Linked DNA regions of Homo sapiens: region 1 is linked to region 2. Evidence: promoter capture Hi-C in 16 types of primary human blood cells and fetal thymus (Javierre and others, 2016). All regions are on one chromosome and are shown on one strand. Each heading gives the region's core, a stretch centred on a gene start or on the middle of the fragment in contact. The rest is flanking DNA. Distances are from core to core; before and after follow the strand shown. Region 1 holds the start of PPP3R1 (protein phosphatase 3 regulatory subunit B, alpha). Region 2 holds the start of ACTR2 (actin related protein 2).

Evidence for each region. The method cuts DNA at HindIII sites, captures the fragments that hold promoters and counts their contacts. A CHiCAGO score of 5 or more calls a contact.
Region 1: a contact is called between a fragment that was not itself captured here and the fragment with the promoter of ACTR2 in region 2, in 1 of 17 cell types (M2 macrophages). The highest score is 5.0, in M2 macrophages.

What each region holds. Positions count from the first base shown.
Region 1 is chr2:68,248,228-68,254,668 of GRCh38, reverse strand. It overlaps PPP3R1 (protein phosphatase 3 regulatory subunit B, alpha), which reads left to right and starts at 2,137. Exons shown (of 6, transcript NM_000945.4): 1 at 2,137-2,544. The coding sequence starts at 2,542. It overlaps PPP3R1-AS1 (PPP3R1 and CNRIP1 antisense RNA 1), which reads right to left and starts at 3,066. Exons shown (of 2, transcript XR_001739527.2): 1 at 2,935-3,066. RefSeq lists an enhancer at 1,018-1,687 and silencers at 1,778-2,217, 2,478-2,527, 2,708-2,817. The HindIII fragment of the contact is 8,076 bases long and covers 143-6,441 here.
Region 2 is chr2:65,223,481-65,230,039 of GRCh38, reverse strand. ACTR2 (actin related protein 2) reads right to left here and starts at 2,209. Exons shown (of 9, transcript NM_005722.4): 1 at 2,083-2,209. The coding sequence starts at 2,130. LOC124907779 (a long non-coding RNA gene) reads left to right here and starts at 2,441. Exons shown (of 2, transcript XR_007086461.1): 1 at 2,441-2,559. RefSeq lists enhancers at 1,278-1,367, 1,440-2,328, 2,329-3,218 and a silencer at 1,868-2,057. The HindIII fragment of the contact is 6,982 bases long and covers 1-4,685 here.

The sequences.
Region 1 (6,441 bases), core at 2,931-5,430, 3.0 Mb before region 2:
AAAGATATGTCCATTACCTCTTCATTTATCTAGTTATTTAAAAACATGTATGCCTTTAGCAGGGCTATTTGGTACATACATTTTTAAAAACACATATGCTTCTGCAGGACTGTTTGGTACCTGTTCCCACTCACACTAAGCTTTACATCAAAATTTAATGGAAAGAGACAAAAAGGAGAATGACTACTTACCATACTTTTCCCCTCAGCCTTTTGATGAAAAACCTATTAAAGGTGCATTTTGGATTTACTTATCTTACTGAATTCAGACTAGTATAAATTGCCTCCAACACAACAAAATTATGGGTTATTTTAAATCCACTGTATTCCAAATAGCTCGAATTCCTTCTTAGTGCATACCCCTTAGTTAAAATAATTTGATTTTCACTGAAAATGTCCAAGGGACACAAACAAATGCAGTTAGCATGATTACCTCTGGTAAGTGGAGAGAGGAAGAATTTTGCATACAGTACTTTTTCTTAAAAAGCACGTCTTTTTATGATAAAAAACTAATTTTAAATAGTATACCTAGAAAACGTTACACATATACCCTAGGGACTTTTTCTTGTTCTGTAATATGTTAGTATCAAATAGCAACATATTTAAATCAAGAAACTTGTGGAAGAAAGTGTCCCTTCTTGGCCTTTCCTTGATACATTCACTGTGTGACACAGCTTGTTATGTCTAAGTTCTTTTCCTTATTCATCCTGACACAGAAGCAAAGTAGCTCCTGAAGGGGGAAGGGGAGGGATGGAGGGGCGGGGAGGGGGGGATTGACAGAGAGAGAAAGACAGAGAGAAAGAGAGACAGGAACCATTTAGTCCTAGGGCAAATCGCTGAGCGTTTATTAGAAAAAAATGCATGCTCATCATATGGAAAAATAATTAGCACATAAAAAGAATAAAGTTCTCATGTAAGGATCATTAAGACTTTTTTAAAAAAAAACAACACAATGGCTTTTTATAAAATGACTCAAAGGCTTTATCAATAAGGAGTTTCCGATCACTCAGAAAACATCCTCTCTCTCTCTCTCACACACACACACACACACACACACACTCTCAAACACACACGAGTGCGGGCGATTATCAAGGCTTGTAAAGGAATAACTGGTTAAAATAGTTGCAAAATGTTTTCTTCGTTATCCTCATCACACCTCTCCTGACAGCTTTATTTCTTCTCTCGAACATAAATTTCCTCCTTATGCTTTTCTGGATGTAATTTCCTATTGTAATCTGAATTTTCTGGGAAGATAATTGCCACAGGAGTGGATATAGCTCTACTAAAAGGATAAGCGGGCAATCTACATTCGAGTTTTTTTCTTTTTTTAAACAAAAACTGATGGACTCCGCCAAAGGGGAGTCTGGACGGTTTATGGGAATGCAGAGCTGGGTGGAAAGTCTTTCTGCGAGTGGGAAGTATCCCTTCTCCTCGTTTGCCCAGGTTCTCCCCACGCCTCGGGCTGCGGCCAGCTTTGGCTCGCTTCTCTGTCTTTGCAACCTGGTTCCTGACTCTGCCAATTCATATTACAGATGGGCCTGCGGGTGCTGCACCGGGGTGACAGCAGTCCTGATGGGCCGTGCAATTCTGTAGTGGATCCAAGTCGGTACACGGATGCACAGATACCTTTGACTGCCTCTCGCAGGACTTGGATTTTTCCTGTTTTTTGGTGCGGCATCCGGGTGGTTCTGACACCCTAAGACTGCTCCTCTGCTCCTCCTCTCCCGCAAGGCTTCCACTCCAGGGCCCCTGTCCCCCTTTCGCTAGCACTCGCGCACCCCTCGCGCTTCCTCCCGCCGGGGAACCCTCGCATTTCCTCCTTCCCCTCCCAGCCTTGCCTTCTTCCCCGCCCGCCTCCAGCCACATGACCGGAAGGGCTCCGCCACGCGACGTCACCGACGTCCGCGCCCCCGCCCCTGGCCTCCCCCCACCCTGCACGCAAGGGGCGGCCGGCTGAGGGGCGAACGTGGTCCGCGCGCTCAGCGTTCCCCAACCAGAGCTCGCCAGAGCGCCGCGGCACTCGCCGCCCAGCGGGGCGCGCAGGTTCCCGGATGTGCGGCGCTCGCGGAAGCCCCGCCCCCGCCCCGCGCGCTGCAGCACTCCGCTTTCCCCTCCCTCTCCGCCCTCCCCTTTTTTCGTGCCTTGAGGTTGCGGGTCAGCGCGAGCCGCTGCAGTGAGTCCGTCACGGCTCCGGCGCGAGCGCGAGGCTGCAGCCCCCGAGTTTCCCGGCCGTCTTCGCCCCCTCTCCCCCTCCTTTCTTCTTCTCTGCCTCTCCTGCCTCTCGCCGCTGCTCCTCCCGCGCTCTCCGGCTCTGAATCTCGACCTTAATTTATTTCCCCCTACCCTGCCCGCTCCCTCGCGTGCCCAATCGCCCGGCCGGCGCGGGCCCCGCGGCGCCGCCTCCCCTCCCCCACGCGCGCCCCCTCCCCGCCGGCGACCCGAGGGCCGCAGCTGGGCCGCCGCCGCCGTTTCCTGCGAGCCAGCCTGAGCGCAACACTTCTCCGAGCCAGCGAGCCAGCGAGCCGCCGACCCGCCGAGCAAAATGGTGAGACCTTGGCTTCCTCGATGCACCATCCCTCCCCCTACTGCCGCCGTCCGGGTCGGGTGCGGGGGCGAGCCCCGACGCCCCCGGTCGGCTGTCCCCCGTGGAAAATTCCAGAGACCCGGGCCCGGCGGGTCCCGCGGCGGTTGCGGGCGAGCCGGAGAGGGCGGCGGGGCGGCTGCTGACAGGACGGCGGCGGGGCCCCCGCGCCCGCCCCCGGCCTCTGCGGGGCGCCCCTCTGCTGCTCGGCCGCCGCCCCGCCGTCGCCCCACCCCCGCGCCGCCGGTCCCGCCCGGCATCGACCCCCGCGGGCACCGCTGACCATCAGCCCGGCGCACTCTCCTTCTCGCGACCCTCCTCCACGTGGAGCACCCCCCTCCCCTCCACACTCACTCTGTTTTTCGAGTTCGAGGGTATTCTGAAATCCTTTGGAAATAACAATATGTGGCAAATGGCACTTTACATAAGACCCACTTACTCTCCAGAGCTGCTGCTGCTTCCACTCACTGCCTGTTTCCCAGCAGTGAGTCTTGGCAGGGAACCCTGCCACTCACTTCCCCTCTCCTGCGAGCGTCGGTTTAGCTGCGGTGCGCAGCCCTGCGGGGTTTCCGTTCGCTGCTGCTTTGCTCGCTGCCCTGGCGAACCGGAAAGATCCAAGGTGTTTGTTCACGAAAACATACGCGAACTTGGTTTGGGAGAAATGGGGGCGCTTAATTTTTCATGCTTCCGTTACTACCAAGGGTTTTTTCATTTTCTTTGGTACCTTCTTGTGTCTCTCTCTTGGAGTGGTTGTTTTTGAATCATGGCGATTTTAATTTGTCTTTCCTTACCCTCACATTAATCCCTAGGTAGAATTCGCTGCTGTAGTGTTTCAGACCGACGCTAGGGGTGTGTCTCCCGCCTCTGTCGCTGCAGCCAAGAAATCAACGACGCCCTTTTAGCCTGTTACCTTACCGGTTCTCTCGCTCGGGGAAGCCCTAGTCGTTAGTTTCCTCTTTGTAATCAAGAGTTGTATACACAGTAGAGAAAGTTCAGAGTGCTATTCCGCGTATATCAGATACTCCATCATGCGATTCAGTTATTAGGCTTTCTCTAAAAGTCTTTGAACAGTTGTCAGAAGACTTAAACTGGTTGACGGTGGGTAATTTCTCGCATCTTTTCCACTGTATGGTATCCCACCCTGTATGTAGAATTTAAGTGCTTCAGTGTACGTGGTGGATTACTGAAGGGAGGAATGCTGTTGCTTACAACTTAAAATCGATTTGGTGAAATCGATTTTAAGGGAAGAACGTGAAATTAGAATATTCAGGTAAGTCAGCTTTTATTTAAAATATAGGGCAAATGAGTAAGTGCTTACTGGTGCACTTAAAACCCAGATTAAGAGCAGACTTAAATGATTGCCGATTTTGATGTGTAGAGAAAGTTTTTCCTTGCCAACTTGCGAGGCAGCTCAGAGAGGCAACTTTGGCACCTGAAAGTCACAAAACAATTTAGGAAGATCATAGCCATTCATCATATAATCTTTTTGTTGGCATAGTCTTTTGAAGTGAAGAATTGCATTTCAGTGCTTTAATAGAATTTCCTTATGCACATGCTTTACTTGAAGGTCAGGATCTTGAAGATCTTTGTTCATTGCAGGGAATGTTTTTACTTAGCTTTATAAACAGCACATTTGAGGAACAATGATCTAGCCTTTTGTTGTTTATATATTATACAGCGAAGTGGTATGGTTTCCAAATAGTAACTCTCTTGCGGTGCACCCCGTCCTCTGTTTTTTGAACAACAGACTGAAACTGGGAAGTTCTCTTTTAGCTCTTCAATTTCTTATTTTCCTGTTAACTCTGTTTTCTTGTCTTTTAAAATATTTTACGGTGTATCAGACGATGTTGTTTCCTGCCAGGTCATTATGTTCCTTTTCTTCCCAGCTCCCTTTTCAGTATTTATTTCCTAATTCAACTGTTGGGTTTTTTTTTTTCCTCTTTCATCCTCCCAATACCATTTCAGGACCTACATAATGTTGGCAGTGGCTTTCCAACTTTAGGGTTATTTTGGTCTGCTGAATACAGTACTGGTTTGAAAGTATCAAGACCATACCCATAACTCAACTTTGCCATATGGGATGTCGATTAACCCAAATAAATCAGGCTTTGGAGTGATCTGGTTAATTTTTCTGGTTAATTGAACATACAATTCTGAAAACTTTCACACCCTTTGGAAAATCTCTCTTAGAACTCTTATTATTTACATTCTGTCAACAGCATTTACAGTATGAAATATCACTAGTTAATTCAAGTATGGAAAGTAAAAAGGCTTATAAGATTTAAATGTACTCTCAAGGATCTTTTCTGACAGGTATTAATTTTAGTTGGTGCCTTAAACGTAGTTTATTTTTTTTTTTCCTGAAAGTTAAAGTCTTTCCCTCCCTTCACCCTTATTTGAGTTTTAAATTGTTAAGCGTCCAGGGAGAATGAAGGTTATATGTTAAAAAAAAAAATCTTGTAAATAGTGAGCTCCTAGGAATTTCCCCTGAACGAGGTGTTTTATATATGTTTTTGTTGAAATAGATAATACGGATTTTGTTCTGGATACTTAAATGAACATAATATAAAGGTAATTGTTTTACGTTTTGTTTCTTAAGGGAACTTTAAATTTTATAAAGGCCTTTTCATGTCTTTGTGCTTTTAAACTTTTAAATTTTTTTTTATCTCCATGATCTGCATCTAGAACTTAAAACAAATTTATTGCCGTCTATAACTGTATGTAGAGTTTTACACAACATATTCTAGTTCAGATTCTGTGGCAAAGGCCACTTTTTAGAAAAAAAAAAACCTGTCTTATGACCAGCGGAATTAAAATTCACATCTGTCCTGAGAAAATTTATCCACTCATTTTGTCCCATAGTGAATGAGAAAATTAAAATGGTTCAAGGTATAAAGTAAAGAAGCTGACTAAGGGTCAGTCAGCAATGAGAGGGACAGACAAGTATGGAAGGATCAGGCAACTGTTATAGGTAGTAAGGCAGTATAAGGAAGTCACCTTGGGCCAGGAGGATATTAAGTCAGACAGTGGGCCTGGAGTCTGGGGCAAGCAACAGGGATTCATTCCTATCAACAAATACTTGTAGATTTTGTCTGCCGTTTACTGGTTGTTGTGCTCTCTGTTGTGGAGGATATTGCAATGATTAAGGCAGGTTTCCTACCTTCATTTAAGTAGAGAATGTAAGACAAATGGCAGTAACCGTGAAGTAAGTTAGCATGTGATGAGTGTCATATGAATAGTACACACAAAGCATGATAGAAATTTAAGAAGGAGCAAGATCATTTTCACCTGGGATTAGGAAAAGTTTTATGAAGGAGGTGGTAATTGAGCTAGCTGGGTCTAAAAAGATCAGCGTTGCAGTAGGCAGAGTTGGAGGCATCTAGAAGAAGGCACTTTAAATCCTAAAGGGAGGAAGAGACAATGTACATTTGGAGCACTGATGGTTCCCGAACCAACAGCAACAGCATCATCTGGAAACTTGTCAGGCCCCACCCTGGAACAACTGAATCCAAAATTCTGGAGATGAGCCAAGCAGTCTTAAGTTTTATAGGTCTTCCAGGTAATTGTGATATAGGCTGAACTTTGAGAACCACTGTTTAGAGAATAGGAAGGAATGTGTAAAGTTGAGTCAAGCGTCTCTTAATGTACCTAGCACTAACTATATGTACTTAAGACATAATTGTTATCTACAAGGAAATTAATCAAGTAGGGTAAATAAGACAGTGATTATGCAGTGTGCTATGTGCTATTAACAGACTAAACATGGGATGCTGTAAGAGCACATGGCAGGGAAGAGGCTTAATCCACACTGGGGATGAATGTCACTTAAAGTTTCCTGGAAGAAATGGTGTCTGAACTGAG
Region 2 (6,559 bases), core at 960-3,459:
GGTCATGAAGTCCTCTCCATCTTCCCTCACTCCCTTATCCTCTGTCTCATAGGTAACCATTATGAACATTTCTTATGTATCCCTCCAAAACTTTCATATGCGGATACAAGTTTGTGGACATACATCTTTAATAAGGAACACACACTTAAACTGAATCATTCTAAAACCTTTTTCAACTTAAAATCTTAGACGTTTCCATAGCAGTGGATCTGCCTTTTTAAAAATATTACATTCTTAAAAACCGTCACATTAATATGTTTTGTTTTTCTTTTTTTTTTTTTTTTTTTTTGAGACGGAGTCTTGCTCTGTCGCCCAGGCTGGAGTGGTGCGATCTCGGCTCACTGCAACCTCCGCCTACCGGGTTCAAGCGATTCTCCTGCCTCAGCCTACCGAGTAGCTGGGATTACAGACGCCCACCACCATGCCCGGCTAATTTTTGTATTTTTAGTAGAGACGGGGTTTCACTATGTTGGCCAGCCTGGTCTCAAACTCCTGACTTCAGGTGATCCGCCCGCCTAGACCTCCCAAAGTGCTGGGATTACAGGCATGAGCCACCGCGCCTGGCCTCAATGTACGTTAACACTCTTTTTACTCTAGTCCATTTTTAACACAGTTCAGATGAAGCTACCATAATTATTGCTTGTAAAATTGTGTAACAAATCTAATCAAGGGCAGTATTATGGCAGTAAATACCAGCTCTTTTCCCCCTCAACAATTCAGATTCCAAAGTGTTTTGTTCAAGTAAAATGAACTTTAATTCATACATCATATTTATGGGAGGGAGGGGAGAAAACTCACAAAATGTTGCAACATCAAAATGGTTAGAAATCACTATAGAAGTCATCCAGAATAAATAATATTTCCATCTTCTAATTTGCTGACTTTGCTACCCAAAATACATTTTTTTTTAATCTGGCAAGAGGGAGGTCTGAATGAAACAATTTTTTTTTTTTATAATTGAGACGGAGTTTCACTCTTGTCGCCCAGGCTGGAGTGCAGTGGCGCAATCTCGGCTCACTGCAACCTCCGCTTCCTGGCTTCAAGGGATTCTCCTGCCTCAGCCTCCCAAGTAGCTGGGATTACAGGCAAGCACCACCACGGCCGGCTAATTTTTGTATTTTTAGTAGAGACCGGGGTTTCACCACGTTGGCTGGGCTGGTCTCGAACTCCTAACCTCTGGTGATCTGCCCGCCTGGGCCTCCCAAAGTGCTGGGATTACAGAAACAATTTTCAAATAGTTTCTAAATCAGTGCTTTAGTCAGATTTTACAATTTTTGAATCTTAAAGGCTAACATTACCTGTATACTGAAACGAAGGGAAAAAAGGGGGCTGGGGGTGGGATAATCAACACTAATTAACTTCCCCTAAGGCTAGTGGAATTAACACTTGAGTCTTGCGGGATCCTAGGTCACCCAAAACCACTCAATGGAACATGCTGGTCTCCGTGGGCCTACTCCTGGGCCAAATACTAGTATGTAAAACAAAAAGTGAACGATGCGCTGCCGATCTGGACCCCTTCCCTCGAAAAAACTAATAAAAAGCCCAACAAACACAGCGAAAGGGCTGAGGTCCACACTCCATGACAGCACTTCCCTTTTTTTTTTTTTTTTTTTAAGTAAACCCGCTTCCTGCTTCTCGTTTGGTGTATCTTCAACTATACAGGAAGAGGAAGGCCTCTAGGTCTTTCTCCTTTTTACAAACCGGTGGCCCTGGGGAAAAGAGCCCTTCTCGGAACACACAAACCGAGCCTTTTACGCTTCCGTCCGCTTTAGCCCAATTGCCCCCGCATTAGCGCGGAGCAGGTCCCTGCCGGGCGGTCAGTAGGCTCCATGTCCAGTGCCGGTCTCGCCCGCCGCCCCCACCCGGAAGGGTGAGGGGGTGGCAGGCTAAATGGGTGGCAGGCTCAAGGGAGACCAGGGAACGGCCGGCTCGCTCCCACGCCCGCGGAGGTGGGAGGCACCGCCCCGCGCCCCTTCGCCCCGAGGGCCCGGAGGTGCAGCCCTGGGGGCCGAGGGCCCGTGCGCCAGCTGCTCGTCCCCGCCGGCGTCTGTGGCCGCCAAGGCCTCCTCGCGCGGCCCTTACCCCGGTGCCGTTGTCGCACACCACCACCTTCCTGCCCTGGCTGTCCATCGTCCGCCCAGGGAAGAGCCGCTGCAGCCGCACAACCTACAGCCACCGCCGCCCGGCCGTTTTCTCTTCTTCCTCTTGCGTCTTCCCGGCCCCTCCTTCGGCCCAACTTTTTTCCCCCGACCGGAAGCCGCCGCCGGGCTCCGCCCGTCATTTAGCTGAATGCCTGCACGAAAAGGGTGGGACGGGCAGGCAGCGCGACTGGCAGCGGTGAGCTCCAATAAAAGATGGAGGAGCGTCGAGGCCCCTCCCGCAGCTCCGCTTCCGGCTCGGCTGTCACGGTCGCTGCCCACCCGGGTTCTTCGCTGCTTCTAGTTCCGGGCGCTTTGCCGGGCGTTAATGGCGGCCAACATCGCCGGTGCTGCGGCTTTCTCCCTAAAGTGTCACAGGAGCTAAGGGCGCTGCTTAACGAACTGCAGAAGACGCAGGCAGGTGAAGGACACCGGTTCTGCTGCGGCAGTGGAATGTGGCGGAGAAGCTGGCGGGTAGGGCGGGGAGCAAGCCTGGAGGTCCTGGCGGACCCCACCATTCGACAGGGCTTGGTGTGTTATTGCTTCTAGGCCTTTTCAGCGGACAGAACTGGGATGGATACACACATGCTTATTTGAAATCATGCGTTTGTTCCATACTCCAATGTCAGCCCACCCCTTCTTTGCCCAAGTTGCTCTATGGTCAAGTGAGCGAGAGCAGGTGCCTGCATTTCCAGCCTCGTGGCTCACCGCCTCCTTCCAGTAGTCCCATGTTGCTTCACACCTCTTAAGTACATGTACTTCTGTGAACCCAGAGCCTTGGCTTTGAAATCAGACAACCCCAGTTTCAAACGTGGCGCTGCCACTCACGAGTTTTGTGATTTTGGCATACCCCTGTCTGCATGGGGATAATAACTTCTATCTCCATAGGTGTGGTGAGGATAAAAGTCTATGCATGGAGGAAATGTTCATTCAGTGGTAGCTATTTCTAATTCTGTTCTTCTGGACCTATGATTCTATCTACGATGCCTCATTTTTTTTCCTTTTTAATCAATTGGCAAACTTGTGCTCTGAGACCCAGCTTGTTACATCTCTGATGACAGCTGATATCCTCAGGATATTCCGTACTTCCTTTCTCCCTATTACTTTACTATGAATATATGAATAACATTGTGCTTATTGCATGCAACAAATATTTATTAGATGAATGACATTAAAATTCACCTTTAAAATGCCATCCTTTATGAGAGGTGAGAAATAGAACTTTTCCTTCGACATGGCTGTACATGTTCAACAACTAGAATAAAACAGTCATCATGAACCCTCAATCCAGTATTCTTTTTATAATATAGCTGCCTGTCAGTTTTCACTGTTCTTTTATTAGACCAGTGATTTTCAAACCTTTTTAAAGGCATACAGTGCTTTATTCAAATCTAATCTTATATGGAACCCTCAACACATAAATATTAAGATAAAAATAAAGCTGCCATTGTTGCAATTAGAAGTTTGAGAGGTTAGAATAGGTAGGAAGTCTCGGAGGAACATTTCTTCGTTTTACCTGCTTTAACAGTCAGAGAAGTACCTCAGCCAGCAGAAAAATTTATTTGTTCATAAATTCCTTGAGTATAGAGTCCGTATCTTATTTTTGTGGCCTCCAATGCTAGTGCTGTGCAGTTTTCTTGAAAGTGCATTTTATTGGTCTCAGCAAATTGAACTCAAGCATTTCTGTGTTCTTTTACTTTTCCTCTTTGTGGAATTAAGGGGATTGCTAATTTGTATTTTTAAAGAAAGAACATTATTCCGGGCGCGGTGGCTCACGCCTGTAATCCCAGCACTTGGGGAGGCCAAGGAGGGCAAATCACCTGAGATCAGGAGTTCAAGACAAGGCTGACCAACATGGCAAAACCCCGTCTCTACTAAAAATACAAAAATTAGCTGGGCGTGTTGGCACGCGCCTGTAATCCCAGCCACTCAGGAAGCTGAGGCAGGAGAATCGCTTGAACCCGGGAAGCAGAGGTTGCAGTGACAGAGATCGTGCCACTGCACTCCAGCCTGGTGAGAGCAAGACTCTGTCTCAAAAAAAAAAAAAAAAAATTGGCAAGTTTGGCCCTAAAATTTATATGAAATGAAAAGGAACCAGAATAAAAGGATTTCGAAACAGAAAAAGATGGAGAACTTCCACTACCTGAATTCAAAACTTATTATAAAGCTACAGTAATGAAGACTGTAATACTGGCATAGAGGCAGATATATCGATCAATGGAATCAAATAGTCCACAAATAAACCTTTACATTATGGTCAGTTGATTTTCAACAATGGTGCTAAAACAATCCATGGGGAAAGGGTAATCTTTTCAATGAATGATGTGGGAGGGAAAAAAAAGAACTTTGATTCTTACCTCACATCACACATAAAAATTGATTTAAGTGGATCATAGACCTAAATATAAAAGCTAAAACTATAAATTTCAGAAGAAAAAGAGGAAAATCTTTTGATATTAAGTTAAGCAAAGTTTGCTTAGATATGACGCTAAAATCGTGATCTATAAAAGAAAAAATTGATAGTTGACATAATAGAAATTTAAAGCTTTTAGTTCATGTATTGAAACAAAAAATCTAGACTGGGACAATGGCTCACATCTGTAATCCCAGCACTTTGGGAGACCAAGGTGGGTGGATCGCTTGAGCTCAGGAGTTCAAGACCAGCCTAGGCCAGATGGTGAAACCCCATCTCTACAAAAAATACAAAAATTAGCTGTGCATATAGTCCCAGCTACTTGGGAGGCAGAGGTGGGAAGATGGTTTGAGCCCAGGAGGCAGAATTTGCAGTGAGCTGAGATTGCGCTACTACGCTACAGCCTGGGTGACAGCCAGACCCTATCTAAAAAAAAAAAAAAAAAAAAAAGAAGAAGAAAACAAAAACAAAAAATCTTGGTCTGTCTTAGGCAACAAGCAATTAAAAAAAAAGTAGAAAATAAAGCAAAAGGGCCGGGCGCAGTGGCTCACGCCTGTAATTCCAGCACTTTGGGAGACTGAGGCGAGTGGATCACCTGAGGTCAGGAGTTTGAGACCAGCCTCGCCAACATGGTGAAACCCCATCTCTACTAAATACAAAAATTAGCTGGGCGTGGTGGCGGGCACCTGCAATCCCAGCTACTTGGGAGGCTGAGGCAGGAGAATTGCTTAAATCCAGGAGGCAAAGGTTGCAGTGAGCCAAAATCATGCCACTGCACTCCAGCCTGGGCAACAGAGCATAACTCCATCTCAAAAAAAAAAAAAAAAAAGAAAAAGAAAAAGAAAAGCCATGAACTAGAAGAAAATATTTGAATAGATATTTTACCAAAGAAGATTTATGAATGGCAAATAAGTACATAAAAAGATATTCATCATCATTAATCATTAGAGAAATGCACATTGAAAGCATAATAAGATAACACTTAATACCCACTAGAATGGCTATAATCAGAAAAATAGAAAACAAGTTTTGGCGGGGCTAGGTGGCTCACACCTGTAATCCCAACACTTTGGGAAGCCAAGGCGAGTGGCTCACTTCAGGTCAGGAGTTTGAGACCAGCCTGACCCAACATGGTGAAACCCCGTCTCTACTAAAAAATACAAAAATTAGCCGGGCGTGGTGGCAGGTGCCTGTAATCCCTGCTACTTGGGAGGCTCAGGCAGGAGAATCGCTTAAACCTGGGAGGCAGAGATTGCAGTGAGCGGAGATCGTGCCACTGCACTCCAGCCTGGGTGACAGCGAGACTCCGTCTCAAAAACAAACAAAACAAAATAAAACAAAAAAAAATGGAAAACAAGTTTGGCAAGAATGTGGAGAAACAAACACTCCTACATTCCTGGTGAGAATGTAAAATGGTACAGGCACTTTGGAAAGCAGTTTGACAGTTTTTTAAAAAATTAAGCATAAATTGCCATATAACCCAGCAATTTCACGCCTAGGTATATACCTAAAAGAAATGAAAACATATGTCCATGGACTCATACCTACATGTCCATTGCAGAATTACTCATAATAGGCAAAAAGTGGAAACTATTCAAATGTCTTATCAGTTTGTGAATGAGTAAACAATATGTAGTACAGCCATACAATAGAATATTTGGTGATAAAAATAAACCAATACATGCTGTAACATGGATGAAAGTAAAAAAACACTATAGCAGATAAAAAGACTGTGATTTCATAGGAAAATCACAAATATAGAAAAAGCAAGATTATAGATACAGAAAGCAGGTTAGTGATTGCTGGGGCTGAAACTGGAAGCCAGGTTTGGCTGCAGATGGGCATGGGACAACTTTACGGATTGATGGAATACTAAAACTAGATTTTGGTAATGGTTACACAACCATAAAAATTTACTAAAAATAAACTGCACACTTGTAATAGGTAAATTTTGAGATGTGTAAATTTCATGTTGTAACTCCAATAAGGCTTTAAAAAATTTAAGTTA